Linked DNA regions of Homo sapiens: regions 1, 2 and 4 are each linked to region 3. The links are contacts of gene promoters, found by promoter capture Hi-C in blood cells and fetal thymus (Javierre and others, 2016). All regions are on one chromosome and are shown on one strand. Each heading gives the region's core, a stretch centred on a gene start or on the middle of the fragment in contact. The rest is flanking DNA. Distances are from core to core; before and after follow the strand shown.

What was found. The method cuts DNA at HindIII sites, captures the fragments that hold promoters and counts their contacts. A CHiCAGO score of 5 or more calls a contact.
Region 1: a fragment that was not itself captured here is called in contact with the fragment with the promoter of C10orf55 in region 3 in 2 of 17 cell types (endothelial precursors and megakaryocytes); the score reaches 7.6 in endothelial precursors.
Region 2: a fragment that was not itself captured here is called in contact with the fragment with the promoter of C10orf55 in region 3 in 4 of 17 cell types (endothelial precursors, megakaryocytes, naive CD4 T cells and 1 more); the score reaches 6.1 in endothelial precursors.
Region 4: a contact is called between a fragment that was not itself captured here and the fragment with the promoter of C10orf55 in region 3, in 1 of 17 cell types (megakaryocytes). The highest score is 5.6, in megakaryocytes.

Annotation. Positions count from the first base shown.
Region 1 is chr10:74,105,637-74,112,293 of GRCh38, forward strand. It overlaps VCL (vinculin), which reads left to right. Exons shown (of 22, transcript NM_014000.3): 17 at 1,594-1,718; 18 at 3,335-3,520; 19 at 6,273-6,476. Among named protein-coding and RNA genes, the nearest start is that of AP3M1, 42 kb to the right of the region's middle. The HindIII fragment of the contact is 1,694 bases long and covers 1,838-3,531 here.
Region 2 is chr10:74,073,674-74,080,090 of GRCh38, forward strand. VCL (vinculin) reads left to right here. Exons shown (of 22, transcript NM_014000.3): 6 at 1,070-1,230. Among named protein-coding and RNA genes, the nearest start is that of AP3M1, 74 kb to the right of the region's middle. The HindIII fragment of the contact is 781 bases long and covers 1,122-1,902 here.
Region 3 is chr10:73,921,081-73,927,710 of GRCh38, forward strand. It overlaps C10orf55 (chromosome 10 putative open reading frame 55), which reads right to left and starts at 1,697. Exons shown (of 5, transcript NR_160938.1): 1 at 1,553-1,697. RefSeq lists an enhancer at 1-387. The HindIII fragment of the contact is 3,151 bases long and covers 299-3,449 here.
Region 4 is chr10:74,122,185-74,128,588 of GRCh38, forward strand. It overlaps AP3M1 (adaptor related protein complex 3 subunit mu 1), which reads right to left. Exons shown (of 9, transcript NM_012095.6): 7 at 3,964-4,171; 8 at 2,196-2,340; 9 at 1-1,726. The coding sequence ends at 1,626. Among named protein-coding and RNA genes, the nearest start is that of AP3M1, 25 kb to the right of the region's middle. The HindIII fragment of the contact is 2,685 bases long and covers 985-3,669 here.

The sequences.
Region 1 (6,657 bases), core at 1,435-3,934, 190 kb after region 3:
ACCTCCACCTTCTGGGTTCTAGCGATTCTCCTACCTCAGCCTCCCGAGTAGCTGGGATTACAGGTGTGTGCCACCATGCCTGGCTAATTTTTATGTTTTTAGTAGACAGGGTTTTGCCATGTTGGCCAGGCTGGTCTTGAATTCCTGACCTCAGGTGATCCACCCGCCTTGGCCTGTCAAAGTGCTGGGATTACAGGTGTGAGCCACCGTGCCCAACCTCTGCGCTTTTTTAGTGCTGGGATTACAGGTGTGAGCCACCGTGCCCAACCTCTGCGCTTTTTTTTTTTTTTTTTTTTTTGAGACGGAGTTTTGCTCTTGTTGCCCAGGCTGGAGTACAATGGCACAATCTTGGCTCACTGCAACCTCCGCCCCCGCCTGGATTCAAGTGATTCTCCTGCCCCAGCCTCCTGAGTAGCTGGGATTACAGGCTCCCACCACCACACCCAGCTAATTTTTTGTAGTTTTAGTAGAGGCAGAGTTTCACCATGTTGGCCAGGCTGGTCTCAAACTCCAGACCTCAGTTGATCCACCCGCCTTGGCCTCCCAAAGTGCTGGGATTACAGGCATCCAGCCTGTGCTTTCTTAATATGGTCTGGCTAAATAGCTCCTCGCCTTGTTCAGTCATTATTTTGGAAAATTTTCAAAAGATGCATGATAACCAATTTACCATCCATTTAGTTTATGTAACTGGTGTTAACTTCTCTTGGGCTTTTCTTAAAATGCTTTTTTTTCTTTGTAAAGCATTCTCAGTTTCTATCAAATCTGGAGGGCTTAAGTTGATCTGTGGGTCTCCTAGGCCCTACACCTAAAGAAAATCTGGGTTTTCTTTAGGTGAATTTTGATCATATTTTTGGTACTACCATGGCAGATCATAATTGGAGCCGCTCCTTTGGTTGAAATCATCTGAATTCCTTCCTGTTTTGAACATCTGATGTTTTCAGTCTTGTCTATGAGTAGAATGCAGTCAATGCAAGAGAGTAGGAAGGAGGGGCTCCCCTATTCATCTCTGGTTCAGGCAGAATCTTTCTAATATCCAAAACCCATTATCACTAAGGACATGCTTGGTTTCCTAATTGGAGTTTCTAATAGTAGAGTAGATTCCTGAATTCCAGGCAACTGAACAGAGTAGCGCAGCTCAGCATAAGGGTTAACATACTGAATGCCAAGGACAGCAAAGGAGTAGAGAGAAAGGTGAGAAGTACTTCAGGGAATGTATGTCCAATCTGAAACTGACATCTCCCATGTTCTGAGTTGGGCAGGCTTATCTCTTGACTGCCTCATCATAAGAGAGGTGATGGATGCCACCTGAGCCCAAAGTGTTCATGCCCAGGGATCTCCTGGGTACTTTTTAGTTGTACAGCCAAGAAGGCACCCTGAACACTAAAAGAACAGCTGGTTTGTGATGCTTCCAATGCTCTGCAGGCCTCAGGGCATCTGCCTTGTCCTGCCTCCCCCCTTCTTCAATCACTGCCCGTGATATTTACTGGCAGCTTCACATCCAGCTTTTGTTCATGGAACCAGTTCTGCTGCTGCACAGACAGTGCTTTGGGGCACTGACCCACCCAGCTGAAAGTGAGGATGTCTTGTGTTTAGGACTGCAAAAGAGCTTCCTGGACTCAGGATATCGGATCCTGGGAGCTGTGGCCAAGGTCAGAGAAGCCTTCCAACCTCAGGAGCCTGACTTCCCGCCGCCTCCACCAGACCTTGAACAACTCCGAGTAAGTAAATTCAGATATGCAGAGAATTGAGCAGGAAGGTGTTGAGACTTCAGCAAGAGAGAGGTAGATTGTGTTTTAGAGCCTCCATCACTAGGTGGCTTCGTTTAGCTTTCATTTGAAGCTTAGTGGGAGGCAGATCTCGATTTTCATTCCTAAATCCAGTGGAGTTATAACCTAGTGCTTATATGCATGGGTTGTGTGTGTGTGTGTAGTACTGGTGTGTGTGGTAGTGGCTTGCTGTGATGGGGAGCGGCTGGAGCAGAGGAGCTGGCTTTGGTAAGTGTGGATGTGATGAGTGATGAGGTAGTGCATTGTGGTAAAATAATCTGCACAGCTTGGAGTAAGGAGATTTGGTGTGTTCTTAGTTGATAATGGTAGAACCGAGGTGGTTGAAATCTTGTGTTGGTTCTTTCCTTTATTTGACTTTTTTTTAAGTAACAAGATACATGCTTTTAAAAAATTTTTCCCTAACTATAATTTAAGATCTTTAGATACCTTCCCCACTACCCCCCGCAAGTACTGTGAATATATTTTTACATGGTGTAGGAAGAAGCTAGCTAGGCAGTATGTTGCAGACACAAATTCCAGAAACAGAAATAGTGATTATTTCTAGACACTTATTCCAACTAACAGTATTAGAAATACCTTGACTTTGTAAATAACTTATCAAGGCAATAATCTGATTTACTTTCCCATATTTAATGTCAGTAAAAGATGTTAAGTTTTTAAGTTGGTTGAGTACAAAATTGTGTCATCGCACACACAGCTAAGGAACAGTGTTTCCCAGCCTTCAACGCATCTTAGATTCTTCCCAGCTGGGTGCTTGGTGGGTGTTTAGAGCTGGGAGAGAGGGCTATTCCTGGGAATGGCTTCTTATGTGAGCAACAGAGTTATGTCATTTAGAATCTGGATCTTAGAGGTCATTTGGTCTAGCTACCCCTCAGTGACAGATGAGGAACCTCAGGCCAAGGGGAGAAGTTACTTGCCTATGTAGCTGCTTTCTGGTAGAACCAGGACCACAACTTACATCTTCTGTAGGGACTTTTTGAGAATCCTTCATCTGGTAGCACTGTGTATACTTCCCTGGGATGCAACCAAAACAGTAGCTGCAAGCCTTTTTTTTTTTTCTTTTTTTCTTGTTTTGAGATGGAGTCTTGCTCTGTCGCCCAGGCTGGAGCGCAGTGGCATGATCTCAGCTCACGGCAACCTCTGCCTCCCGGGTTCAAGCAATTCTCCTGCCTCAGCTTCTTGAGTAGTTGGGATTATAGGCACATGCCACCATGCCCGGCTAATTTTTGTGTTTTTAGTAGAGATGGGGTTTCACCATTTTGGGCAGGCTGGTCTCGAACTCCTGACCTCAGGTGACCCACCTGCCTTGGCCTCCCAAAGTGCTGGGATTATAGGCGTGAGCCACTGCGCCCGGCCACTGCTAGCTTTTTGTAGAGAAACCTGCTTCTGTTGAGATTGAAGCAGGTGGTCCTTGTGGCTCAGTGTGGGTGGTCTTATGTGGAGTCAATATGGGTGGGTTTTCTAGGGATGCTTTTTAGAAGAAAGGAAAGAATTCCAGGGGGGAGTAGTTTTAGGACTTTACTTACAACTTGTTTTCTCTTTTTTAGCTAACAGATGAGCTTGCTCCTCCCAAACCACCTCTGCCTGAAGGTGAGGTCCCTCCACCTAGGCCTCCACCACCAGAGGAAAAGGATGAAGAGTTCCCTGAGCAGAAGGCCGGGGAGGTGATTAACCAGCCAATGATGATGGCTGCCAGACAGCTCCATGATGAAGCTCGCAAATGGTCCAGCAAGGTAAGTAGTGAAGCTTTTCTTGTTGAGAAAGGATGTCTTCTCGGAAAGGATGAAGGACCATGAAAGACCCAGAAAGAAGAGTCTATTTGGAGTCACCCTCTCTCTCTCCTTTGGTTCCTGTGTTGCCAATAGCATATTCCTCTTCTTACCTGTGCTTTAGTGAGATGTTTCTGACACCTGATGGTTTCTCCTTCAAGCTTGCAAAAGCCAGAGTCAGGGTGCCTGTGATTTGAGAAGAGGATTCCTGTCCTTTGTCCATTAGAGTGCCAGGTGCCTTGACCTTAGCATTTGGGGTCTTTTAGAAATTGCTTATCTTTCTTGGAACTGCAAATGTTTTTAGATGCTACATTGCTAATGATCAGAGCTCCAAATATGAATTGTGTGGGCTGTGCTAAAGCTAGATGAAATGTTTGCATTTTCTTTTTTTTTCCACAGAAGCAAGTAGATTGGTATCTTAGAAGCCATGTGCTTTTGTCCTTTCTCAGAATCATTTCACCTGTCAACTCAAGACAGCTCCAGGCTGTCTCTTACTCAGCAAATCTGAAGGTGTAAATATTAATGTGGTTGGTAAAAATATGGATGCTACAGCAGTCTTGCCCTATGAATAACTTTTGCCTATTTTCCCCTAAATGATGAAAAGTGAGCAGTAGCTTTTCTAGATAAGAGGAATATTATTGCTAACCCTGCAGTGAAAGGTAGCTCTTAGTTCTAAACTGTTTCTAATATGACCCTAGATCTTTTTTTTAATGTTTTTATGACCCTAGATCTTTATTCCCACCACCTATTTGCCTTTATTCTTTACACATCCTCAAAGCTTTCAAGCTCTTGTGTCGATTGTATTTCCTCAGGGACCTCCTGCACCTGCAGCTGATCTTGGATTTTTTTCAGGCTGGGAAATTCACATTGGTTTTTAACTCTGTATTTTGCTGAACTGTTAGCTGTGAGCCCAGGTTCTAAGAAGGAAGGGAGACTTTGCTGGTGTTGGACCTGACCTGTAGAATTATTTATAATGGTATCTCTCCAACTGCATGTGGCAGAGCCCCACTGTGCATGGGGAGTGGGGGAGGGTGACAGTGAAGATTTTAAAGGAAATTTAAATTTCATTACAATGAACCAAAATACACTATGCAGAACAAAAAATATACATGAATTATTTAAAAAAACAAACAAACTTAAAAGCAGACAGCATTGGCCCACATTACTTGCCCCACTCTGCCATTTGTGGCCAGAAGTCCTGAGGTCTATCTCCTGAAGTGTGCAAGATCAGGAGTTTGCTGACTTTGAGTTGTGTGAAGTCAGAAGCTACTTGAACCATGTGTGTACTGGGCTGGGGAGGAATATCTGTTCGTGTGTCTGTCAACCTATCTGTCTTTGTACACTGTGGGACTCTGAGCCTTAGCAGCAGTGAGCTGGCTTTTCTTCTGAGCAGCAGAGATGGGTCTTGGTTGAGTTTAGGCAAAAGAGTTTAGATGGTATCTGAACCCCTTGTTGGCCCTGAATCCTCCAACATCGTCACCCTTTGGAGTCAGGTTTCATGTGCAGGTTAAGACTTTTAGGAGTGGTAACAACCTCAAAGAAAATTCCATATAAACTACTTCCTCTTGAGTACAGATGTTTGATGTAAAGAACCTGTATTCATCATTCTTTGTATAAATGGTTTGGCTTCATTGTGGCAGTTTTTAATTTTCTTTCCATGTTAGTCTATTTTCAGCATCTGGCTTTTATAATCTCCATCCCTGGTTCTAAATTCATGTTCTCTCCATCATGATTCTCATTCTTAAATGAGCACCATTCTTCTGAGCTTCTGTGAGCTCAGCTGCAGTCACTTGCCAAGTTCACATATTATTCTATCTGTGAACTAGATAAGCAGAGTTTGGGGTGAGTGAGAACCTATTTTGCAAGCAATTTAGGTTGTACCCAAGGAGAAGCTTTCTGAGGTGGTACTAGCAATGGATGCAAAAAGAGATGGTAGAAGCTTTGCCTCAGAAGACCTTGAGGGGATAGAGAGCTGGTCTGATGTGTGGGTGTTCCCTGAGATGGGCGGCTGACGAGGTGGCTTCTTGAGGCTCCTTACAGCTGGGTGACAGTGGGGTACTTAAGTTCTCTTCAGTCACCATTGTGTTTGTTTTTCCTGCCTCTTTCCTAGTTTGGTATTCGTTACCTCTGATGTATCATTTTTAATTCTGGGACTTTTAACTCATGAAGGAAATAATCTATGTCTGGCAGCTGCAGAGCTGACCCAAATTGCCTCCTGTGTCCCAGGAAAATGTAGAACAGTGACCATATGATCCAGCAGTGTTCACTTTGTTCTGTACAAAGTAACTTGTGTGGCTGCATTTACTTTTTCTCTCCGGATTCCTTTTAAAGGTAATTTGCTACTATCGTTTGGTTGTTTGGCTCCTCAGAAATATTCTCATGTGAGAATCACTCTTGTCAAGTTTGACTTTAGTATCAAGTATATTAAAGAAATGGATGCCACTTGCTTTCTTGGTGTAAAGATTTCTCTAGAAGCCCTTTGCCATTGGAGTGAGTCCCTTTTCTTCTCTCACCACACAGTGGCTTGGGCTGAGTGGCGCTGGAGGCTGAGAATTCCCCCTTCTGTGAAGCTTGGTACACAAGGCTCCTAGAGAACATGTTTCTTTCTCATCCTAGGCAGGCTTTGGTTACTAAACCAGCTGAAGCCCAGTTTCCCAAGTCGTATTGCTCTTACTAACACTATCCCTATTTCTCATCCTTCCCGCCATCGACAAAGCCGGGCATCCCAGCCGCTGAGGTGGGTATAGGTGTTGTAGCTGAGGCAGATGCGGCCGATGCTGCTGGCTTCCCTGTCCCCCCTGACATGGAAGACGATTACGAACCTGAGCTGCTGTTAATGCCATCCAATCAGCCGGTCAACCAGCCCATTCTGGCCGCGGCTCAGTCCTTGCATCGGGAAGCTACCAAGTGGTCTAGTAAGGTACTGATAAGCACCCCCAGTTGGGGGCTGCTCCATATGCATCCGGCCATGTGCAGCCTTGACACATTGCATCACTCATGATCTGTGCTGGTCCTGTGAGTCTGAGCAGGGCGGGCATCTGTCTGTCTGCACCATGTTGTTAGGACTGGCTTCACAAGTTTGATAGGTCTGCTAACGCCAG
Region 2 (6,417 bases), core at 262-2,761, 150 kb after region 3:
ACCTTCCCATTGAGTAGTGCTCTGAAATGCAAACATGGTAGCTGCTCTCTCGACTAGCAAAAGGGAGTAGCACTTATTGAGTGTCTAGTATATGCCAGACAGCTCATGGTTTATATGAATTATCTTAGTCAAGTTGTGGGTTAATTAGTTATTTCTCAGAAGGCAACTTTATTATAAAAATCTGGTGACTCATGTCATTGTGACTTCCAGCTACCTGCTTTGGTGTTTCAAGTAGTAGCTAAAAAAGGACATATGAGTATAAGAGTTCAGGAGGCTGGGCACAGTGGCTCACTCCTGTAATCCCAGCACTTTGGGAGGCCGAGGTGGGTGGATCACCTGAGGTCAGGAGTTCGAGACCAGCCTGGCCAACATGGCAAAACCCCGTCTCTACTAAAAACAAAACAAAACAAAAATTAGCCAGGATTGGTGGCAGACGGCTATAATCCCAGCTACTCAGGAGGTTGAGGCAGGAGAATTGCTCAAACCCAGGAGGCGGAGGTTGCAGTGAGCCGAGATCACGCCGAAAGTGTTGGGATTACAGGCGTGAGCCACCATGCCCAGACATTATTTTTTTCTTCTTTATGTTTGGGGGTTGGCAAATCCAAGCTACATGTTGAGAGAAATCTCGGATGATAAACTTGACATCTTGGGATCTTCTGCTGGGATCAGGGGCAGCAGGATACGCCATTCAGAGTATTACTGACAGTTTTCATATTGTCCCATTAGGTTTGTAGTAGATGGAGCCAGGGTGAGGGCCAGGATGATAACTGATTTAGAAGGATATTAGATATTTTGTGATTGCAGGTCATCAGCATATGCAGGTTAAATTAGTTACTTAATCATGTTGTGATGGTGTCTTTGTACCTTGAGTTTTCTTTTTCTTTTTTTATTTTTACAATAAAGGTTGTTAATGTTGGAACTTTATTGTCAAACTTGTAGTGTTTGTTTTGTATACTCATTTTAGGATCTTAAAAGCCCAAAACATCTAAAGTGTAGAACATCTTTTGTGAATATTGTTATACAACAAGATTAAATTCCAAGCTTACTTTCTGATCTTTTATTTTTACAGCTATGAAGATTTTTGTAACAACTAAAAACTCAAAAAACCAAGGCATAGAGGAAGCTTTAAAAAATCGCAATTTTACTGTAGAAAAAATGAGTGCTGAAATTAATGAGATAATTCGTGTGTTACAACTCACCTCTTGGGATGAAGATGCCTGGGCCAGCAAGGTACGTGTTCTTAGTGGAGAAATAAGCAAAATCCCCAACTCTCCCTGGCTGGGGGTTTTGATTGGCACCTGTCTCATACTTTATCTTGTAATTTTTGTAGCATAAGAGTACTCAGATATTGTGAAAGTAATTTCTTCTTCATTTCTGTTTCATAGGTTACTTGCTATCTTTGCTAATTTCCTTTGTTCTAAGGTAGAACAAGTAAATAGGCATGTGGGGTAGATACTGGTTTAAGGCTGAGATTTATAGCTTTTCCATCAGGCTGGAGTCTTATTGGTTGGACTGGTGGAAGAGTATATTCCCGTGGATGGGAGCTCTGCCTTGTATATGGGTGGTTCTTCCCAGCTGACTAAGTAAGATACAGATATGCCTGTAATTCTGAACTTTATGGAAAACTTTTCTTTAACCAATCTTTGATCCAGAGAAATCTACAGAGGAAACTCTTGGCATTTCTAGATGTGTCCCTTGATCATTCCATTTTCCCCAAGGAAGGTTTAATTAAAATATTAGTCTTCACATTGGTCAGTTAGTTTGAGGGATCCCTTCACCCTTTTTCTGGAATCTCTTTTAGGACCCCAGAGGGGCTGGCAGATTCCTTCTAGAGCCTGTTAGCAGTGGTTTTGTGTTGCTGCTGCTCTGGTCTGCTGCTCCCTGTTTAATGACTGTGAACCAAGCTTTCAGGTCTGGGGGAACAGAGATACTTGGGTTCATACTTTCCTTGTAGGAGCCCAAGATGTAGGCAGTGGGGGGAACACACTGTCCCCAAGATCTAGCTTTCCCATGTGTGACCCCAATGTCTCCAGGGCCAGCCAGAAGGCTGGTAGTCAACTAAAGAAGGGATTTTGTTGTATGACTTCCATTGGGTGCTCAGTAGAACGGTATGTTCTCCGGGATCTGTAAGGTAATGTAAAAGCTGGGGCCTGAAATCACCAGCCCTCTCTCTTGTTGCCCTGAAAGCTAATTTAATTATATAGAGTAAGTTAGCTTATTTTAACTATGGATTTATTTACAGAGACATTTTCTCATTGATGTGAAGTTCTTGAATAGATTCTAAGACTGTATTTTAAATCTATATGGTAAAATCTTTTTAACTCTGATATTTTATTTAATTTTGCTTTTGCATAGTTGACAACTTTCACTTCCCTGTTATGACTTCTTTATGCATCTTTTTTTGTTCTTTTGTTTTATTCTTTTTCTCACGTTTAGAAGGTAAGCTTTCTCTTGCCCTCTAGTTTCTTTTTCGCTTAAAAAGAGAAAAGCATGTCTGTGAGGTTTTTTTGTGCTGTGTGCCGTGCCTTATTCTGTGTATAACACTGTGCTTGAATGTGCGTCAGAATGTGATTTAATACGGGACTCTAGGCAGTGCTGGGGAGACTGACTGTGGCTCATATTGAGTGATTTCTTTGGGAAAAGCTAAAGGAAAGACATTACTGTGGGCTATCAGGCTGCCTATATTTGGTGGGTGCCTTCAGTTCTTTGGGTAGGCTCCTGGGATCTTTTTTGGCCTGGTCTTTCCCATTGACTTCATTTGAGGAGCAGGATTCCCCAGGTAGCTGGGAGACCCCTGAGTTACCTGTGGACCCTGCTGTTGGGAAAGGAGACTTCCAGCTGATGCTATCTCTGTACCTGCCTCTCCCACCAGTCTTCTTTGCGGGCTCTGAAATTTTGCTTTTGGAGATGCATCATTGAGGTTTTAAGCCATAATGAAAGAGGGTAGGCTAGAGAGCTTAGATGAGGCACCTGTCCTTCATAATAATCCTAGCCTTCAAAATCCAAAGGAAAACAGAAGTGAAGTGTGTCTAAAGGTCTTCCTAACTTCATTCTGTGGCTCACTGCATGTTTTGCTGTCCAAACTGAATTAGCTGTAGTTCTCCATGACCTCATGTTCCCCTAACCCAAGCTCTTCGCTTATTCTCTTTCTTTTGCTTCTAGCAGATGACAAAAAGTAATAAGGAGGAACAGGCATTTTAACCTTAATGTTTCTCTATTTTCAGAAGGGAAAAGCTATCCATCATTTAGTGAATAAATGTTATTGAACTTTATTTTGTGCAAGTGCCATCAAGAGCTGCTTCTCTCATTAAAAAAATGTAGTCAGTTGAGTTTTCAGGGCTAGGATTAGGCACTTGGGGATACAAGTGAAATAGACCTGGTACTCACCGTGTACAGTCTTGTAGCTGCTCCCAGTTTTATGCTGAGGAAAACCAATTTGTTAGGATGCTACAAAACTAACTTCATCTGAAATGAAAGAAGGTAAATTAAATTAGCTCAACTCAAGTACACGATGACATCAGAATGAACAAGAGATGTTTATGTTTTAATCTACTGACCATAAGAATGAAAAAGAGATGCTTATTTTTTAACCTAATGACATCAGAATAAAAAAAGAGGTTTATTTTTAACCTAATTTTGCTTTTGTTTTACATTTATGTGGTTCAAATATCAAAGTGCTGCAAAAAGATATACCTGATAAGTCTTCCTCCTAACCTGGTTCCCATCCACTCTACCGCTCCTCACCCTCTAAGAGTAATCATTTCTATTGGTTATCAAAATAGAAAAAAATTTTACCCTGAAAATAGAAATTGGTAGCTAGGATTTTGGCTCTTTTTCAGTTTTGTAGCATTACGCATCTTTCATTGCTCCACTGTAAGCAGTGAATTAATCAGACCTTTTGTCTGACTGTGACTGCTGGGTTCCCATTCTGTTTAATGCATACAGTGTCTTTCACCTCTTCTCGCCCCTACCAATAAATAATTAACTTTGTCTTACCATACTTGTTTCATGCCTCCCCATTGGTGCAGTATTCTTCTGGAAAGTGATGATTCCTCTAGAAAAGTGGGGGAAGAAAGTAAGTGGAAAAAATTCTTGGTAAAAGTGCGTCTTGCCGAATAAGTTAAGATTTTAAAGAGGCAATGCAATAACTGATTATTTTACCTTTTATACCTATATTCAAATTGCACATTTACAAATTTAAAAGTAACTTTGACTTTAAACACTTCACTTATTTTAAAAGTAAAAAGTTTCCTTTTCTTAAATCAACAATCATTTTATAGTGATCATTAAAAATTAGGTTAGCATTTTTTTCTGAAAATACATTATTTATTAAAAGAATTTGAGTTAAACACAATTCTAATTCTACCCTTTGTAAATTTAGTGCTCTACATTTAATTTTTTTGGTATTTATATTACTTGTATCTTGATGCATGCTGAGAATTAAGAGGAAGTGAGATAAAAAATTAAAAAAAAATTTCACTGCTAAGACTTTGAACCCTACATAGGCACTCCTGCAGCTTTGCACCGTGAATCATTAAATTCTATTATTCAGAATTAGTTCCTGTGGTGGGTCTCTCCCCACTGTGGTCCTGGGCTGGTGGTGGGTAAAAGTAGTAAGTGACTCAGATGCCTTATACAGAAGATTAGCAAACTTAACTAAGGCAGGAAATGTTGGTTAGAACTTGTGAGTGTGTAATACTACCCCCTTACTTGCAGACCACTGGGATTTAAGAGTTGATTTGTTAAATTAAAAAAAGGTCATTTGTGGGCTTTCTATGAGCAAGTGTTCTAGTGTTTTGTTTTTAGCAGCTAATAGAATGAAAGATCTCTAAGAGCTTGAGAGAAATAGTTAATTCAGGCATTTATGATATTTTATCTCCCTGCTCCCCATGAGGAGAAAATCCCAAAATAAATTGATGTTTCCCTTCTGATCTAAGTTATCTTTGGCTAGTACATCTGATCATGCACTCATAGGTAGCATAGATTTTTAGAGCCAGGAAGGTATTCTTAGAGATGAGGAATTGAGACCCAGAGAAGGTAACTTGCATGAAGTCTCAGGACTAGACAACTTTCTCTTGTTTAAATGTAGTTTGTAAGATTTTGTTCTACTGCCCAATCTATACTTTCCAGAAACATCTTAAACCAGAAACATCTGGTTTAAAACATTGACTTGCAGGTGGAAATGAGGTTAGAAAGGGGATGGAGTGGGAAGACAGGTGTTGGTGGAGGGAGAAGGGAGAGTATGGTGGGCAGTCATGGAGAGAGGTTCTTATTCCCCATATTTAAAATTTTCAAGAGCCTAGGATTGCAGGACTTTACTTTTTTAACCGAAGTTCCTCTTGATTGTCCATAGAAGGAGGTCATTATTATTCACAGGTGTTCTGAGGCCTAAATCTATGTTTAATTTAAGGAGTGTTTCAGTTCCTAGGAAAGCACGTACAAATGGTTTAGCTTGTCGTTCCATCTTTTGGTATGCAGGGAAGAGTGCCAAGGCACTGTATTTTTTTCATTTAAAACATGAATTCATAAGAATTTTATGTTAAGAAGGAGCATAACATGGTGGGGGAGGACCCAGATAGATTCAGGCCAGCTGTCCCCAAAGCCACATGACTAGACCTGGTCTTTTTATACTTCACTCTTTCAACACCCACAAACCCCCTGAAAAACAAACCAAAAACAGATAAGAAATTGGTAGAGACTTTTCTTTTTCCCAAAGTTGAGCTTTTACAGAGAAGAATACTCAAATGAAGGTGCAGTTTTTCTCTCTTCTATTTCATATCTGAATTATACTGACCTGAAATATACAGACCTACATGACAAGGTTTAGCAAAATGGTTTGTGGTACAAAGCATGGCTGACCACAAGGGTTACGATTATTTTCACCCTTTATAAATATATCCCCAAATTGACTTCTGTCCTAGTTGTCCAGTGAATTTGTTTATGTCATATTCATTGTTTGTATACTTACATGCTTATGACAGAATTCTGTCAATTCTATAATAAATATTGCCTTTCAAAAGAAATATATATGAAAGTCTTAGGAGAAAAAAATTCCCTTAGACATGTTTGTTTTTACTAGATATGACTAACATAAAATGGTTACTTATAACCTACTGTTTTCCAGAAAGAATTTAAGATGGCTCTTTCAGTTATTGTTTTAAATCTCTGAAATTGTCTAAAATTAATGCTGTTAAAAATTTTGGTAACTTATTGAAAGTCGCAGTTATTAAATGCAGCTTCATTCAAAATTGGCTATTGGTTCCTTTTAGGGGAAAATGAACATCTCTTAATTTTAACTTCTTGACGGTGTCACACCTCCCACTGAGCAGTAAATTACTCACTTCCTGAGAATTACATTCTTTCCTTGCAGTACTGGCCATTAGAGCTTTATTAAGGAGAAAAAAAGAAATGATTTTT
Region 3 (6,630 bases), core at 447-2,946:
GGATTACAAGCATGAGCCACCATGCCAGACCAACACTGTGCTAAATTATTCATGTGTTGTCTGAGTTAATCCTCCCAAGAATCCTATGAGGAAGGTAGTATCACTAGCCCCATTTAACAGTAGAGAAAATGGAGGCACAGACAGATTGAGTGACTTGCACGAGGCAATGCAGCTCCAAATGCAAAGAGTCAGGGTTCGAACCCAGGCAGCCATCTCCAGAGTCCTCATGCGCGGTACTAGGATTTATCACCTCTCAGGAGAGTCCAACTAGGGCAAAAGGAGAGCAGCCCCCCTTTCAAGCTTTCTACTTTATGGTTGCTGGGTTTCTAGGCAACAGCTATCAGAATTTTTTTTTTTTTTTTGAGACGGAGTCTCACTCTGTTGCCAGGCTGGAGTGCAGTGGCGTAATCCTGGCTCACTGCAACCTCCGCCTCCCGGGTTCAAGTGATCCTCCTGCCTCAGCCTCCTGAGTAGCTGAGATTACAGGCACATGCCACCACGCCCGGCTAATTTTTGTATTTTTAGTAGAGACGGGGTTTCACCATGTTGGCCAGGATGGTCTCGGTCTCTTGACCTTGTGATCCACCCGCTTTGGGCTCCCAAAGTGCTGGGATTACAGTTGTAAGCCACCCGCCCAGCCCAGAATTTTTTTTTTTTTTTCCATACACAGTCTTGCTCTGTCGCCCAGGTTGGAGTGCAGTGGCCCATCTCGGCTCACTGCAACCTCTGCTTCCCAGGTTCAAGCTATTATCCTGCCTCAGCCTCCTGAGTAGCTGGGATTACAGGCGTGCACCACCACACCCGGCTAATTTTTGTATTTTTAGTAGAGACGGGGGTTTCACCATGTTGGCCAGGCTGGTCTCAAACTCCTGACCTCGTGGTTCACCCACCTCGGCCTCCCAAAGTGCTGGGATTACAGGCGTGAGCCACTGCGCCCAGCCTCATCTATCAGAATTTTAATCCTCTCCTAGATAACAATTCTTTCCTCCTAGAAGATTCCCAGGCCAGATGAGGAGACCACACTCAGCCATTGGTTTCAAAGTAAAACTTCACTGTTCTCACAGTAACCTCAGCCTTTCTGCTGCAATCTGGTTTCATTGAAGTGGTTTCCGTTTTCACCAGAACCCCTCTTTCTGAAGTATTCTCAGCCCATTATATTAACAGCACTCAGCCTGCTTTCCACGTATGCCCTATCTTTCCCAAGCTGACCACAGCAGCACCCCTGCCTATACCCCTCCATACTCACTCCCATTGGGTCCACCTTCCTTCCAAGAAGGAAACATTTAAGCCCTCCCTTTGAATTAGATGAAGTAAGAGGAGTTGCTGAGGTGTTTTTTAAAAATCAATTCTGGGCTAGGTGCAATGGCTCACACCTGTAATCCTAATACTGTGGGAGGCCTAGACGGGAGGATTGCTTGAGCCCAGGAGCTCGAGGCTGCAGTGAGCTATGATTGCACTACTGCACTCCAGCCTGGGTGACAGAGCAAGACCCTGTCTCTAAAGAAAAAAAATCAGTTTTATTGAGATATAATTCATATATCATACAACTTACCCATTTATTCTTTCTCTTTTCTAGAGACAGGGTCTTGCTCTGTCACCCAGGCTGATCTCAAACTCCTAGGCCAGAGTGATCCTCCCACCTCAGCCTCCTGAGTGGCTGGAATTACAGGCTCATACCACCACGTCTGGCACCATTTGAAGTGTACAATGCAATGGTTTTTAGTAGATTCACAGAATTGTGAGACATCACAATCAATTTTAGAACACTTCATCACCTCACAAAGAAATCCTGTACCCACTCACAATCACTCCGTTTTTCTCCCCAACCCCCTCAGCCCTAGGCAATCACTAATTTACTACTTTCTGTCCTCTCTGTGGGTTTGCCAATTCTGGGCATTTCATATCAATAGAATCCTATAATATGTGGTTCTTTGTGACTGGCCTCTTTCACTCTTAACATGATGTTTTCAAGTTTTATCCATGGCATAGCATGTGTCAGTGAGGTTGCTGAGTTTTAATAACAAATTGAGGGAAAAGATGGTCTAGGCGAGGTGCAGTGGCTCACATCTGTAAATTCCAGCACTTTGGGATACCAAAGTGGGAGGATCCCTTGAGTTCAGGAGTTCCAGAACAGCCTGGGCAACATAAAGAGGCCCCATCTCAAAAAAAAAAAAAAAAAAAAAAGGATGTTCTAGGTCTCTTTTTGAGGTTTCAGTCACATTGAGATTCATTCAACAATCTTTGTCATTTCTTTCTTTCTTTCTTTTTTTTTTTGAGATGGAATCTCGCTCTGTCGCCCAGGCTGGAGTGCAGTGGCGCAATCTCGGCTTACTGCAATCTCTGCCTCCCAGGTTCAAGCAATTCTCTGCCTCAGCCTCCCGAGTAGCTGGGATTACAGGTGCCTGCCACCATGCCCCACTAATTTTTTTCTATTTTTAGTAGAGACGAGGTTTCACCGTCTTGGCCAGGCCGATCTTAAATTCCTGACCTCATGATCCACCTGCTTCGGCCTCCCAAAGTGCTGGGATTACAGGCATGAGCCACTGCGCCCGGCCCTTTGTCATTTTTTTAAAGTACCCATACACAGGACATTATTTTAGATACAAATGAGGCAGTCCTAGTCCTCAAGGAGCTCACCACTTTGCAAAGTGCTATACTAAGTCTGCATAAAATGCATGGAAAAATAATGAAGAAGCAATTGATTCTGCCTGGTGAAGTCAATGACGACTTTACAGAAGAGGTGATATTTTACCTGGACATTCAAATACACACAGAAATTTGCCAAACTAGAAGAAAGGCATTGTAGGCGTAGGGAAGTTCATGGAGGCATGAAAAGGTGAGGTGTTCTAAGGAAATGAGGAATAGTCCATTGTGGTGGAGAACTCTGGGGGGCAATGAGTAGGTGGAGATGGTGGGGAAGGATCTGGTGGGATCCAGCTGGTGATGACCCTGCTGCAGGACTGATTCTCAGCAGCAGGCACTGGTTCTGCTCAGTGACTAAACAGATGCTGTCCTGAGATCCTCTCCGCGTGGCCCCTGCCATCAGCCTCTCTCCACTTCTTCATGATCCAGCAACCACAGGGTTAATGCCTGTGGCACAGCAAAGGCCTCTGAGATCCTCCCTCCTCCAGCTGGCTCAGGCGAAAGTGTCCTACTGGGGTATCTTGATAGTTAAATATTTTGACTATCACCTCTTGCCCTCAGGCACTATTTTTCAAAATCCAGAAAGTGAATTAAGTTCTAGAAGCCATAAAAAAATTGGCTTTTTAAACTAAACATTTTTATTCAATTGTAAAAGTAGCTACAAATGTAAAATACTTTCATAGCATTCCACAGCCATTGTTAACATCTCTGGCTTCTTGGGTTCCTTTGTAATCTCAACCTCTTTTACTCGGTCTTAAATGTTAGGATTCCTAAAGCCTGATCTTAAACTTCCTATTCCCACCCTAAGCTTTCTCCCTTAGGATCTTGTTAGCACCCAGGCTTAAATGACCACCAATAAACAGATGGCTTACAAAGCTGATCTCTAGCCAGACCTCTCTTCTGCACTCCAGACTCTTATTTTCTGTTGTCTACTTGACACCCCTTTTGGTTGTCACTCACAGGGGACCTCAAAGTCAACCTGCCCCAAACTGGCCGAGTCTTCATGCCCCAGTGTGGAGACATCTCCCATCACTTTCTGTCTCAGATGATAGCACCACATCCATTCAATTATGAAAGCCAGAAACCTGGGGCCATCCTGATGCTTCTCTCCTGGTTTCCTTCATCCCCTCCATCACCAAATCCTGGGGATTTGACTGATATCTCTTGAAGTCGTCCATTTCTCTCCCTCCCCACCATCACCATTAGTTGAGCCCAGTCTACCCTACAATAGCTTCCCAGTTTGGTGCCACTGCACTACAGCCTGGGCGACAAGAGCAAAACTCAGTCTCAGAAAAAAAAAAAAAAAAAGGACCAAAGGACCACTAAAAGAAGAGCACTCTTTTTTTCTTTTTTGAAGCAGGGTCTTGCTCTGTTGCCCAGGCTGGAGTGCAGTGGCACAATCCTAGTTCACTGCAGCCTTGACCTCCTGGGTTTAAATGATCCTCCTGCCTCAGCCTTCCAAGTAACTGGAACCACAGGTATGTGCCACCACACCTGGCTAATTTTTTTTTTTAATTCTTTTGTAGAGACAGGGTCTTACCATGTTGCCCAGGCTGGCTGGTCTCAAACTCCTGGGCTCAAGTGATCCTCCTGCCTTGGCCTTCCAGTGTGCTGAGATTATAGGCATAAGCCACCATGGCTGGCCTAAGAAGGGCATTCTTAGCACAGGTTGGTGAGGATTAGGGGCTAGAAGAGAACCCAAAAGTTTCATTTATTCACTGATTCATCCTTCACTCATTAATATAGCAAACACTTATTGGGAGTCGGCCATGGGCCTGGCATTGTGCTGTGTATTGGGTATAAAGATGAGAGCCCCAGTCTCAACCCCAGTGAGATAAGGGTCAAGTTGGGGAAGAGACACATTGCAAATGAATAGAGTACAGGGTGAGGAAGATTTACAAGATGGGCAGGGATGGCTAAGACAGCAAGGTGGAGGAGGTGACCTTGGGGAGAATCTTGAAGGGCAAATACAGGAGGAAGAAATGCTTCTCTGAGCAGAGGAAACAGCACATGCAAACGTGAAGAGGAGGGAGGAAGCCCAGGGCACCGGAGGGACTGCAGGTGGTTCCAGCCGCTGGGGTAGGGGCTGGCATTGAAGTGATTTGACTGGAGGGATTGGCAAGAGCTGGAACCTACGGGCCTAGAGGACTCTGCCTGACACATGAAGGACTTTGAACTTTCTTGTGATGTGGAATTGTTAAAGATTTTGGAGCAGTGTGAAAAATTGATCAAAGGAAGATTCTTGGGCCTGGGTGAGACTACCAGCAGGGAAAACCAGTTTGGAGACTATTGCAATCAGCGAGGTAGGAGCTGAAAAGTGTCTGAGCCAGGGCTATGGCAATGGGATGTGAGCAGAGGATACAAATATGGGAGATTGGTGGGGATAGAATAGACTTGGTGCCTGGCTGGGGGCGGGAAGAAAAGGAGATATCACTTGGTTTAGTCTCCTGCCTTCGGGTAGATAAGGCAACAGCATAATTTTACAGGTGAGAAACTGAGGCTGTAAGTGATTTATAGTAGGTAGCTGACCAAGCTAGAGTTACCACTTGTAGAACCTTGGGGATCAATACCTCAGGGCAGCTAGTTCTGCTAATTACCTCCTTAACTCTGTCCACCCAACTGGAGAACTTCCCTATCACCATAATCACCACGCAGTGCTGATATCCAAGCCTGCATAGGGTGATGCTTGTTTCTGAAATACCCCAGGCCTGTTCAGCCCTGTGACTGTGGTTCTAACACCTGGAATTTCTCCTGAACCTGCTGGTCATGTGATGCACTGGCAATGAGTTAGTGGATAGGTCGGTGGCATGTATAAGGAAATCAGCAGATGCTGGATCTAGCCGTCTGCCTTCTGACTTCCTAAAAATGTGACTTCTGGTGTTTCAACAGATCACATGCCCTTAGCACATCACCAAGTTCTGGCACGAGGTTGTGGAGATGGAGCAGATTTTGTAAGGACTCCAGCTGGTGGGCTTCCTAGCCCAGTCTCTCCTTCCCTCTTTTTGGTGGTTCTCCAGTTGCCCTTAATTTCTCATTCTCTTTTCATATAAAGGGAAGAAAATGACTTTCTCCCTCACCTGGCTCTTCCCATCCTCACCCTACTGTCTTTTTAGCTCTCTCTCCAGAGTATTGTACAAGCTGGGGTTAATGCCATTGGAGGGAGGACTCTCTAGCTCCAGCTTGGTTTTTCCATTTAATTGTCTTGGTGAAGCCAGCCATGGTGGTGCATGCCTGTAATCCCACCTACTTGGGAGGCTCAGGGGTGAGGATTGCTAGAGGCCAGGAGTTCAAGACCAGCCTGGGCAACATAGTGAGACCTTATTTCTAAATGAATGAATGAATGAACGAATGTAACAAGTGTCAGCCCCTTTTCCTTTTCTTTTCTTTTTTGAGATGGAGTCTTGCTGTGTCACCCAGGCTAGAGTGCAGTGGCATGATCTCGGCTCACCGCAACCTCCGCCTCCCGGGTTCAAGCGATTCTTCTGCCTCAGCCTCCCGAGTAGCTGGGACTACAGGCGCACGCCACCACGCCCAGACAATTTTTGTATTTTTAGTAGAGACGGGGTTTCACCATATTGGCCAGGCTGGTCTCAAACTCCTGATCTCGTGTTCTGCCCGCCTCGGCCTCCCAAAGTGCTGGGATTACAGGCATAAGCCACCGTGCCCGGCCCCCCAGCCTCAAACTTTCTCTGATTTCTCACTATACCTACACACTCCTCACCACCACAGGCTGAGAGATTCTGCCAGGGAAGCTCTAAGCTCTTGAGTCCCATTGGAACTGGACGTATCTGTGAAGTTAACAGCTATTGATCAGGTTACTTCTATTTCCCACTGGAATTTGGCCACCATCTTTGGCTGTAGAGAGTTACTAGAATTTTGCCAGTTTCCCTAGTGGTGAGCTCACCAGAAGTCCTTCTCTGAAAGTCCCTTCAAGTCAAGACCTCTTTGAGTGCTTCCCTCTGCCCTTTCTGTCTCCTCAACTGAATT
Region 4 (6,404 bases), core at 1,077-3,576, 200 kb after region 3:
AAAACGTTGCCTTTCTTATTCCATGAAAGGCAGGGCAGGCAAAGGTAAGAAAACTGCTGAGTGGGCTCCTTGTACCAGCACCAACCAGCAGCCCTTGACAGCATAGATGGGATGAGTGTAAGGGCTATCCTTAGCATAAGGGAAAGACGGTTATAAGCTGAGAAGATTGAAAGAAGAATGGAGCCACAAAGAGAATAGCATAAATAACAAGAAGGAAACATGAAGAACAAGCACTTAAGATATTAACTTTCAGTCTTTCTCCATTTCTTGATGTCTAATGAGGCAAAATAACTGGGCAAGGACCACCAAGATGAAGAAGTTAAATAAAATGTCACAATGAAATTGAGTGCAATAATACAACTGTTGACTGACTTTCCAAAACCACGGTGATCGGTAGAGTATCATCAATGTTACCGAGGATTTTGTTTCTGCCTCATTATAACTCACTTCCATGTATTTTGTCAGTATAGTACGTATATTTAAGCACTCCAGTGACAATTATGACAATAGTTTCTGGAAGAAATCTATGACTATAGCTTTGGGAAGCACACAATATGAAAAGGGAATTTCCCCTAAAGACAAGGAATGCAGACAAATTCAAACCCTTAAGAACAACAACAAAAAAGATTTAAAAAGACTGATGACTGTGAGGCAGGCACATTTTCCTCCTTTTGCTGAACTGGGGCATGAGGCATTTAGGTTAACCATGGCTTAACTGGTGTTGGGTAAGCTTTATATTATAAAACATGAAGATGGCAAAGGTTTCACTTAAGTTTTTCTTTTACTACTTTAATTTGCTTAAAAGCACAAATGCTTGTGCTTGCAGTAACTTCCTAAAAGCAGAAGTAATGTTCCCTTTTACTACCTTAATAAAGCATTTGCCCCTTTGATACAAATGATTTTTTTACTGTGCTAACAGCTGAACCAGTGGCACAAAATTGAGATGGTATTTACTGCAGCAAGGTCCCTGTAAATCAAATTCTAAGCTTTACATAAAAATCTTATTTATAAAAAATACAATACCAAGTACAGTGAGAATGGAGCATGGAGCAGCAGTGCTCCCTGCCAGGGCCATGTGGAAGTGGCTTTTGCTACAGTGCTTGCTTAATGGCACAAGTGAAAAGCTGAATAAGGCAAACACTTGAAGAGGCAGTTTTCTGTAAACTTCTGGGGGTGGGGGGAATTTCCTCTCGGGACAGATACTGGTTTGGGATGGCTAAGATCAGAAGGTGTGATATTTGGCTGCACCTGACACATCACAGATTTAAGATAGCTTCTGCTGGATGAGACCAGTTAACTCTTTTAGGAGAGAGGTTATCACTACAGCTTTCTGCCTTTACTGTTACAATGTGCAGCCGCCAGATGGTATCCTCCTATGGAAAAAAATCACCTCCAAAATCTTCCTAAGTGAAAAGATACAAAATAAGCTAAGTCACTAAAAGGTTTCCTTAGCTTAAAGCTCCTTAAGAATCCTACATTGATAACTAAGTAACTTTGTTAGCGGTGTGTAGCTAGACACAAATGCTTTAACTAGAATATGTATTCCCACTCACTTGGTACCTAATAGTGATACATCGTAATGACACTTGGAAAACAAACTGGTCCTGAGGAATTTTGGCCTCTTCTCATGTCCTCACTTGGAACTTTCCAGCTTTCGTGACGTATTTGACTCCTTTAAATGGCTTATATTTCTCCCCATACATGTCCAAACGGTTTACTTTTAAGCCTGTATCAAAAAGAATGAAAAAGAATAAATTATCATCATCCCAACCAATATAATGTTAGCAATGAGCGCTATATGGTAAATCTGACATTAACCAGTGTCCCTTCCACCATTTGGAAGAAATGTCTCTTCTATCATTTACAAATTATTGCACTTTGATGGTATGGTTTTGGTTAAGATTCCCACACAGGCAGGGAATGTCTGTGAAGTATAATTCTACTTTCTGTGAATATGAATAACTCTCTTTTTGGTGCTTAAATGAGGGCGGAGGTGAGGGGAAGCTGTTTGAAATAAGGTGCTCTGAAAAATCATTTGGTCGGTGCCTGTGAGACTGCCCCACCAAGCACAGTATAAAAGGCAAATGGGCTACTGCTCTTTCTAGAGAAGGAAACTTTTGTTACTCTTCTAAATGCCTAATAAATGAGCTTGCAAAACTCAATTACCCTTAACTACAAGTCAACCTTATCCTTACCTGAAATAGCAAGCTGCTGGATCTTAAACTGTATGTTGAGGCTCGGATTCTCTTCTGGTTTGGGGGCTCCAGACTGTAAATTTACCAGTCCTTTAAGACTTGGGAGCTTTTGTGGAGTAATTTTTCCCACATCCCATGTTAGTACCTTAAAAAGACAAAAAATGAAAAACAAATAGAACCATTTATTAAAGACAAACCCTCAAAAACAAAGTTCAAAGATATCATAAACTTCTGTACAAACTGAAGTGCAGTCTCTTGAAAACAAGAGATCTGGCATCTACAGTGAGTTTACCTCTGATTAATTCTGTGACTTTGAATGGGGAGTGAGAGCAGAGAATCTACATTTGTTGAGCATTTTCTTTTGTATTAGCACCGTGCTTAGCATTATTCATATGTTGTCTCATTGAGGGCTGTGAAGTAGCTTTTGTCTTCTATTTACAAATGAGGAAATTAAAGCTCAGAGGACATTAAGGCTCAGAGATCAAATGACTCGCTCAAGGTCACATAGTTAGTCAGAGGTAAGGCTGGGATTTGAACCTAAGGCCCTCTGATTTCAAATGTTCTCCATCATAACCATCTTCACTTTTCTCTGGGCCTGTTTCTTTTTCTTTTTTTTTTGAGACAGAGTTTCACTCTTGTTGCCTAGGATGGAGTGCAATGGTGCAATCTTGGCTCACCACAAACTCTGCCTCCCAGGTTCAAGCGATGCTCCTGCCTCAGCCTCCCAAGCAGCTGGGATACAGGCATGCGCCACCATGCCCAGCTAATTTTGTAGTTTTAGTAGAGATGGGGTTTCTCCATGTTGGTCAGGCTGGTCTCGAACTCCTGACCTCAGGTGATCCACCCACCTCGGCCTCCCAAAGTGCTGGGATTACAGGCGTAAGCCACTGCGCCCAGCCTCTGTTTATTTTTCTGTAAAATAATTAGATTGACTTAAGATGGTGTTTTTAAAACTTTTAGCTGTGAAACCCATTGTTCAAATGAAATCTTCGGTGTGAAGGCTCAACAGCAGATGAGAAAGAAAGCAAAGCTGTCATAGTTGAAGCTGTGGTAAAGGGCCAGGAATCTGAAGCTCCCTTTCTCAGCCCTGTGTGGTCTCCAGGAGGAGGTTCTTTGAATCCTTACAACTGTATTAAATAATCTTTAACATTCTATGATGTTATTCAAAAAACATGTCTTTTCATTTATCAGGTAGCTCAATGACTCTGCTATTGAAAACAATCATATTTACCAGCTAATCAGGAAGCTGAGAGAAAATCATCTGCTACAGTTTCTCTGAAAACCCTCTGTTACACAAAAATTTAAGTAGAGTGAGGAAGCAACTTTCCTAGCCCTGTGAAAGAGTATGAAATAATGCTTTTAAATTATAAAGGAAGAAAAAGGTCTTAGTGATCAATTTATATAGAAAACTTAGTAATTCATAGACCATCATAATATCTTCTTCAATCTACATAATGTTTTCTCTTTTTAAAAAAGCTTTTACTTCTTTCTTATTAGATAGCAGAGTCAGGCTCTGGATTAATAATGGATGAGTGAAGGCACACTCTGAAAAAGGACAGAATGACACATTTTTCTGTTCATCTACTCAGTAGCAGCTGCAGGATTCCTTCTGCAGCCAGTGGCAGAAGCACAGCACAGTATGCTCTCTAGGTTTTGATACGAACTTTAGTTTTAAACAAGGTGCCAAACCTTTCCCTCCATTCCTCCCCACAAATCACAAAATAGATTGCAGAAACACTTGCTCACTCTTGATTTGAAGTGGCTGTACCTTGGTGACTGGATCAAATGTATAGCTGCCTTGTGTGGGTGTCAGGTTCATGTTCAGCACAACTTTTGGCATGTGAACTGTCACTGTAATTCCTTCAATAGTTTTCCCCATATTCTGCTTTGGTCCAATTGTTATATCAAATCTGCCGCAAGAACTGTTCTCCTTAAAGCTGATACTATGTTTCACATACACTGGTATTGCCACTAGACTAAAAAGAGAAACAGAGAAAGATACAAAAGCACAAACACAATTAATGGTGTGGGGAGAGCTCCAGAGGTATCCTGAAAACCTCTGTCCAGAGTATCCTACCCTGCCTTTAACTCCACAATAAGGTACTACAGAGTTGGCTCTCTGTAGCCACAGTTCTGCATCCTTGAATTTGACCAGCTGAGGATTGAAAATATTATTTCACAAAATTGGCCAGGCGTGGTGGCTCATGCCTGTAATCCCAGCACTTTGGGAGGCCGAGACCAGGGTTGGGAGGGGATCACCTGAGGTCAGGAGTTTGAGACCAGCCTGGCCAACATGATGAAACCTCGTCTCTACAAAAATTAGCTAGGGCTGGGCGCGGTGGCTCACACCTGTAATCTCAGTACTTTGGGAGGCTGAGGTGAGGAGTTCAAGACCAGCCTGGCCAACATGGTGAAACCTCGTCTCTACTAAAAATACAAAAATTAGCTGGGTGTGGTGGCTCATGCCTGTAGTCCCAGCTATTTGGAAGCCTGAGGCAGGAGAATCGCTTGAACCTGGGAAGCGGAGATTGCAGTGAGCTGAGATCGTGCCACTGCACTCCAGCCTGGGCAAAGGAGCGAGACGCCATCTCAAAAAAAAAAAAAAAAAAAAAAAAAAAAAAAGTAAAAAATAACAATATAACTACAATAAAAATAAAAAGTCAACATGGTATAACAATTATTTACACAGTGTTTACAGTGTACTATCACAAGTAACTTGGAGATGATTTAAAGTATACAGGAGGATGTGCATAGGTTATATGCAAATACTACACCATTTTATGTAAGGGACTCGAGCATCTGCTGATTTTTGCAACCAGTCCTCCAAGGATACCAAGATGGCAGTACCTCTAGAACTGCAGATTCAGTATCTACACAAGGGGGAGCTGAGTACAGCATAATGTTCTTGTACCACTGTGCTGGGAACTGTATACAAATCAAGACAGAAATCTGAAGTTTAATAACAGTATAAACAATTGGGGTGGCTGGGTGCAGTGGCTCACACCTGTAATCCCAGCACTTTGGGAGGCCAAGGCAGGCAGATCACTGGAGGTCAGGAGTTTGAGACCAGCCTGGCCAACATGGTGAAATCCCCTCTCTAATAAAAAAAAAAAATAACAAAAAACAAAAATTAGCTGGGCGCGGTGGCAGGTGCCTGTAATCCCAGCTACTTGGGAGGCTGAGGCAGGAGAATCGCTTGAACCCAGGAGGTAGAGGTTGCAGTGAGCCAAGATCACACCATTGCACTCCAGCCTGGGTGACAATAGTGAAACTCCGTCTCAAAACAAACAAACAAAACAAAATAACATAAAACAAACAAACAAAAACAATTGGGGCAAATGGCCCTAGTTTAAAATGAATTATGATCCCACTGAAAAATAATGTAAAATATGTTTTATATAAATGAAAACAGTTCCTATGTGATAAGAGCCAAGAAACAGGCCAGGCACGGTGGCTCACGCCTGTAATCCCAGCACTTTGGGAGGCTGAGGTGGGCAGATCACCTGAGGTCTGGAGTTCGAGACCAGTCTGACCAACATGGAATAACCCCGCCTCTACTAAAAACACAAAATTAGCCGGGTGTGGTGGTGCATGCCTGTAATCCCAGCTACTTGGGAGGCCGAGGCAGGAGAATCACTTGAACCCTGGAGGTGGAGGTTGCAGTAAGCCGAGATTTCACCATTGCACTCCAGCCTGAGCAACAAGAGCCAAACTCCGGCTTAAAAAAAAAAAAAAAAAAAAAAAAGGAAAAGAAAAGAGCCGAGAAATAATTTCTCTGTTTTTGAGTTCTGTCATGATGTTACTCAAATAACTTTTGGTATTTTCAAGAAACAAACTACCTATAACTCCGATCCCCAATGCTAAATTTTTTTTTTTTTTGAGATGGAGTTTTACCCTGTTGGCCAGGCTGTAGTGCAGTGGTGTGATCTGTCACTGCAACCTCTGCCTTCCAGGTTCAAGTGATTCTCATGCCTCAGCCTCCTAAGTAGTTGAGATTATATAGGCACACGCTACCACGCCTGGCTAATTTTGTGTTTTTAGTAGAGACAGGGTTTCACCATGTTGACCAGACTGGTCTAGAACTCTTGACCCCAAGTGATCTGCCCACATTGGCCTCCCAAAGTGTTGGGATTACAGGAGTGAACCACTGCACCCGGCCCCTCAATGCTAAACAGTTCCTTAAAAACTCAACGCAGAGAAGACGTACTT